Regions from separate parts of the Homo sapiens genome. Here region 1 is linked to region 2. Evidence: promoter capture Hi-C in 16 types of primary human blood cells and fetal thymus (Javierre and others, 2016). All regions are on one chromosome and are shown on one strand. The core of a region is centred on a gene start or on the middle of the fragment in contact, and the rest is flanking DNA. Distances in the headings are between cores, read along the strand shown.

Region 1 (3,321 bases), core at 650-3,149, 630 kb before region 2:
GAAGCCAAAGAGAGCCGGATGAGAAGTAGGATTGGAGAATGCTGTCAAATGGTAGAATTGACAGGATTCTACCCATCTGGGACATATGTTAAACTAGATAAAAAAGCGTTATTGGTTGAGTACCTCTTTAATTTTGCTAAGAGGAAGCTGCGTGGAGCAATGCTTTCCAGCTTTATTTCTGGGGACTGACTGGGCTCAAACTGTGGCTTGGTCACTTGTAGCTGAGTGACCTCAGGAAAGTTTCGTATCCTCTTAGTGCCTCAATTTCTTCATTTGCAACATGGGGATAATATTAGTAACCACCTCATAAGATTATCATTAAGATGAAATGAGTTACTATTTGTTAAGCAGTTAGAATTTGCCTGGCATGTAGTGAGCTCTAAATAACCATTTGTTAAAATAGCAGAAATAAATAAGTAAAATAATGTTGCAGATCACCTTGCTGAGGCATTGTCCAAGAATTCTGGGATAAAATTCTAGGAATGTTTAATGTAGAGTCACTATCAAGCACAAGAAAAATGCCTGGTGTCTGTTAAGTACCAGAAGAGATATAGGTAAGTAGATACTGCCCATATAAAAGAAGGCTCTGGCATTGGGTACATGGTGCAACATGCTAAAATGATGCAAAGATGAAGCAAAGAGCTCACTGGAATCCATAACTTCCAGCAGGTGGACGAAAACCAGAAAAATGCCCACTTTGTAGAAGACTTGGCCACTCCTCTCATTTCCCAGCACAGAAATTGACAACTCGGTTTACTGGAGGAATTTGGTCAATTGCTGGGAAGGATTTATTTGTATTTATTTATTTAGTCAATTTTATAGAAATAATGTCATAAAGACATGGATGCCTATGGCAAGGGTCACATCCAGGATCTTGCCCCTCCCTGCCTGGCAGCTGTCTTTCACATGCTTATCTCTCTGCCTGGAACCCATGCCCACTCCCACCCTCAGTAACTACTATTTGCCCTTTTGCTCTCAGTGATAATGTTAGTTCCTCAGGGAAACTCCCTCCACTCCCCTAGACTATATATCCACATGACATCGTGTACCTTTCCTTCATGTCTTTTGTCCTTGTTTGTAATTAATTTTGGGGATTATTTGTCTTCTCACTTAGACAACAAGTTCCACTAAGAGCAGGTGTTGCTTTTTCTTAACACTGTTTCCTTGGTGCCTACACAGCACCAGAACAGTGTAAGTGCTTACTAAATATTTGTTGAATATAGTGAAATATTTTTTGTTGAATGTACCCCAGCCACCTAAAGGGTCTCCTGGTTTCCTGAATTCATAGAGATTCCTTTGGAAGTAAGTGGTTGAGGTGGTTGAGCTTGACAGCTGCTTTCAGATCAAGATTGAAATTCTATGCTGTGTGTGGATGGTTGTGAGAGTCTTATTGTACACTCAAGCTCTTAGTCGATTTCCAGTCCAGGTGGCACAGAATCAGGCTTATCATCTCATGTGGGTTGTGTTTGTCCTCCTGTGGCTCTTAAGGGAACATCTCAGAGATGGCCAGTGGTGCTGCTCTATTATTTGGGCGGGGCGGAGTACTAAAAAGGGTGGGAAGAATGGAACCCCCCACCCCTCATCGATTTGCCTCACACCGTTAGTAATGGGGAAAAATGCTGTCGAGGTGTCATCAGTTCTAATGTGGCTGGCTATATTAAATGCTAGAAATAATAATGGAAGAAATGTGAGACTCTCCTTGCTGCAATGTGCGTTGCTGAGGAAATGAAGAACGTCGCATTCAAAACCTCATTTCCCTTCTTAACTACAAGGGATTTCAGCATCAAAGGGATTCATACTCAGACTTCCACCTTGTAAAAGCTTAGCCTGCAAAGCCAACCAGTAGAGGGCGCTGCTACCCTTTGTAAGAATCATTTGGGGCTCACCTGAAGATAGAGACATCTGAAATGTGGACCAAAGATCATCAAGTCTGATGTTTATGACACTCCAGTTACAAACCTGAAAAGGGAAAGCTTTATGATGGTATAATTTATGTGCTTTCTTTAAAAGTTAACAAAGCTTGTTTGTTTAAGCAATCTGTTTACCATATAAAATTGTCCTGAGTCTGAGAAAAAATCACCTTTCTGAAAGAAAGGCTGACAGGAGTGCTGGAACATGAACTTAACATGATCCAAATGCATGCATCTGTTTAGGGTCATCTGAGCTATTAGGAGTCGTAGGAGCTTGGCTAAGACTTCTCAGTGAATGTAGAAACACTGAGAAGGGAGGTCAAAAGATGATTATGATCGGGGGGTGGGGCTTTTGAGAATTATTATACTAAATGTGAAAATCTGATTTTAGCTCAGGCGAGGCCTTCAGAGAAAGCATTTAGCCAGCAGGAAGTTAAAGGGTAGCATGTGTCTTTATCTGTAGGGACATAGCTGGTTTATCCAGTTCTCTGGGATACAGTCCTTGATTTGAGGGGTCTGGGGTTTTGAAAATTGGCACCACCTGAGGAGTATGACCCTGTGCATTCCCATTCTTCAGCTGGATTTTGGGCTTCTCTCAGGGTTTTGCCTCTGACTGCAGTGGATGGTCACACCAGTAACTGCAGGCTCCACTCCATACAGCTCAAGGCCTGTCTGCTTCTGTTGCTGAAACTGAAAAAGCTGATCAACAGGGCCTCAGCTCCTTACAGTGGGGTGATGGCCCTTCCCACATCTCCAGGAGGGTCTGTCTGCTGAAGGCTGGAGGGGAGCATCCAAGCTGCCTTGATTGGTACTACAGATAACCCTCCCTAAGTCTCTCTCAGGCAATGGGGGAGTGCACAAGACATTGTCTGGGAAATGGAGAAAAAGCGTTTTCCAGGAGCCAGTCTGGAGCCAGGAATGATATGAGAGTCAAGGAAAGTAGACAGTCCTCTCCAATGCTCATTGAGGATTCTTCATTCCTGACTTAGGTTTCTGGCCACACGCATTTCCTGGGAAACATCATTCTTAGTACCTGTTTCTTTAGTGCAGGGCTATTTCTAATGCTTCAAATTCTTTCATATTAATGAAGGAAAAAAGTTTACTCCTCTGCTATTTTAAGCCAACAGAGTAGGAATTCTGGTAGAGGTTGGTGCTGCAAATTTTGAGGCTTGATCAGAAGTTTGAGTTGGGGTAGCCAAATAATGATCAATTTACTATGTTAAACAAAAGGCAAATATTTTATATCAAGCATCACTTGCAGCCTCCCTAATAAAAGATCTATGAATCTTTTTTCCTTGCAAAGAATGAAACACTCCAAAACTCCTGAGTGTTTAGGAATTTGCCTTTCCTCTCACTAGCTGCTCAGCAGCTGAAGCACTGCCAATGGTTGCATGGGGAACAACAGGAGGGG
Region 2 (3,113 bases), core at 460-2,959:
TTTACTACCAAAGCATCCACTCTACAGGAAGTCATGAAGGCTACATTTCAAGAAAAAGGAGACTGATCTCAGAAGGATGGTCTAGATACAAAAACAGTGAGAATGTAAATGATAAACAGAAATGTAAACATTGTGTAAAGTAAAATAACACCATATATTTTATGGTGTTACAAAATACATAGAAATAAAATATTGGACAAGTACTTTATAATTTCAGTGGAGGAAAAGTTATTTTAAGGTCTGTATCATTCACAAGGGGTTCAAGACATTTTTAAATTTTAGACTTTGTTAAGTTAAACATGCATAATACAATTTCAAACAGAACCATTAAAAAATAGAAATAGAGCCAGTAGTGAGCTGGTAAATGTGGAACAATTGGCTCTCTGAAGACAAAGCCCTAATTTGTGGCATTTGCCAATTTCCATGGTGTAAATAGTCCCACCATGAATGATTTCAAGCTACCTACATGAAGTCACTGAACTTCATATTGAGCAAAGGATCAGAAGTGAAAGGAAAGGAATCGGAAAGGATACCTAGAAGGACATACCAACGAGATCAAAGGAAAACTAAGAGAGTGCTGTATTCTGAAAGCTAAGTTAATAAAGTGTTTCAAGGAGGGAGGGAGTGATCATATTAATGGAGAATATTAGTACTCACTAAATATCCATGTTTATTTCATTGATATGAACCTCCTTATGTTAGGTTGGTGTTGTGTGACTAGATTCTGGCTAATGGGGTGGATATCACAGTCCTTCCTGACTTTAAGTAATTAGAAGGAACCAAGGGCCAACCTACTGAAATAGAAGATTCCCCCGTGGCTAGCAAAGTTATATAAGACTCCAACAGACATTTTATGATGTCTACTGTGTCCTGGGCACAGTGCTACTCCCAAAGAATAAAACAGTGAGTAAAACAGGAATTTTGAAATGATTGTGTAGCAGTTATACTCTTGTTTCAAGTGTTTTCAAGTCACAAGACCATGTAGCTCAGTTCTATAAACAACTACTTTAACAGTGGCATATTCCCAAAGGATCATTCTTTATGGGTACCAGAGTATAGCAATACATGTATGTCCCTTCTCTTATTCCTTCTCTACATCAAGCAAACATAGCCCTAGGCACTGAAACATAGCCCCAGGCTTCTCTAGAAACTAATTTCTTCAGTGTTGAAGGCCATTGATCTCTACTGCTTTTTTGTTTTGCTATAGTGAGTCACATTGTACTTCAGTGCTGGCAGTGGTTAGGTCCTGTATCAGGTGAGATAAAAACACGAATACACTTGCACATTAATACATGAACATAAATGTACACAAAATTTCAATGGCCTCAAGTCACATAAAAATAGATTCATATTCATTAGTGTAGTGTATGAGGTCTGGAATGGACCCACCCAGAGTGTAGGCTTATCAGAATGGTGTCTGTATAGCTTACCAAATTCCACATGAGTAGAGCTAGAGGAAATCTGAGAGATCATTCAATCCAGTGTTTATCAAACATTCTTCTAGACACAATACATAGAACTATATTTTAAGACACACACATGCACACACAAAAACAGAAACACACACACACCTAACTGAAACAAAAGTCTCAGGAAAGAATATACCATGCAGAAGAGGACTCCAGTCTGCTGGCTGGGTCAGAGCCCAGCTGAGGCAGGCAGGGGATATAAGGAAGAACCAGCACCCCTTTCTCCTCAGGCACCCCTACACCCACACTAGGTCTCTCCTGATGAATTGAGGTGGACAGTGACCTCACAATGCACTTAAAGGGCAGGACAACTGACAGCATCCTATACAATGGACTGTGGAGCTGTGTCTGGGTGGCACTGTCTACAGCTTGTACCACCTTGGCTGGGTTTTCTTCTAGAAGAAGTGAGATCAAGAAGCCTGGTAGACCTGGGGAAGTTGTAAAAACATCAATGAATGCTGGCTTCTGTGAACACCAATAAAAAAAAAATGAAGCAGTGTGATATTTTCTATCCTGTCCTGTCCTAAGCTATCTTATCCTATGTTCCATCCCATCCCATCCCATCCCATCCCATCCCATCCCATTCCCTACTTTATCCCTTATCTTATCCTCTTTCCTTTCCAAGCATTGCCTGTTGCAACTGACTAAATTGACTTTATGTCCCACAAATGGCTCCAAATCACAGTGTGAAAATACTGTTTTAGACCAACCCCCTAATTTAATGGAAAGAAAAACTGAAGCTTAGCGACAACAAATAGTTTTTCAAGGTCACAGTTATTGCAGAGCTAGGACCAGAGCCTAGGTACCCTGGTCCAGAGGGTTTTGTTCTTATTGGAGGGCTATCTGCACCTCTCTTTGAATCTCTTGGAATAGGGAGATAAGGAGAAGAAGGAAACATAAATTGATGGCTATGCCCTGCCTTCTCCGTTCTGCTTATCCCTGGTCAAGGTTGCCAGAGAATTCAGGCCCTTCAGAGCCAGCTGAGATGTGCTGAATGCTAAGTGATTCCTCATCTGATTCCTTGCTCCAGAATACAGGGACTTGAAGACAGACTACATTTTTCCTGAGCGAGACAATTTGGTCTCAAGGGAAACCAAACTGTAGCACAGAATGTGAGGTGAGTTTGCCCTTGCCCTTTCATTTATCTTCCTTTAATCAAACAGACTAAACGTTTTCATTGGAAAGAGAAGATTGTTATCCTTGGCTTTCTTGTGTCTCCAGCAGTATTTTTCTTAGGAATGTGTTAATAGCTGTAAAAATTTTAACACGTCTTCAAGTGCCTCTCATGTTAGGAGATTCTTCTCAGTTGTGGGAAAAGTTGTTGTCAGATTGCCCAGTATTTAAGTGAAATCAAAATGTTTCTGACAGGTTGATTATGCTCTTTCTTCAAATGCCCTGTCTTTTCAGAGTATGCAGCCAGATGCTTCGGAGGGAGAGACATTTTTCTTGCCAATCCCGATTCCTTCAGTCCTCAATCACTCCCCAGAAAGTTAGGCTCAAAAGACGGTTAACTTCAGGAAAAGTTAAGAAAAGATTTGGGTGTTTTCAGTTTCAAGATAGTGTGGTGCTTGGCCCTTTTGTAAAGAGCTTATTTGCTCTGGTCACCAAACTTCTTTACCTTTATGTTTTGTTTAAAGAAACAAG

The links. Contacts are between HindIII fragments. The CHiCAGO score rates a contact against its expected background, and 5 or more counts as called.
Region 1: a fragment that was not itself captured here is called in contact with the fragment with the promoter of TBX18-AS1 in region 2 in 2 of 17 cell types (erythroblasts and megakaryocytes); the score reaches 5.5 in erythroblasts.

What each region holds. Positions count from the first base shown.
Region 1 is chr6:85,322,144-85,325,464 of GRCh38, reverse strand. No RefSeq gene overlaps it. Among named protein-coding and RNA genes, the nearest start is that of LINC02535, 81 kb to the left of the region's middle. The HindIII fragment of the contact is 152 bases long and covers 1,824-1,975 here.
Region 2 is chr6:84,688,054-84,691,166 of GRCh38, reverse strand. TBX18-AS1 (TBX18 antisense RNA 1) reads right to left here and starts at 1,709. Exons shown (of 3, transcript NR_125877.1): 1 at 1,606-1,709. The HindIII fragment of the contact is 6,253 bases long and covers 1-2,211 here.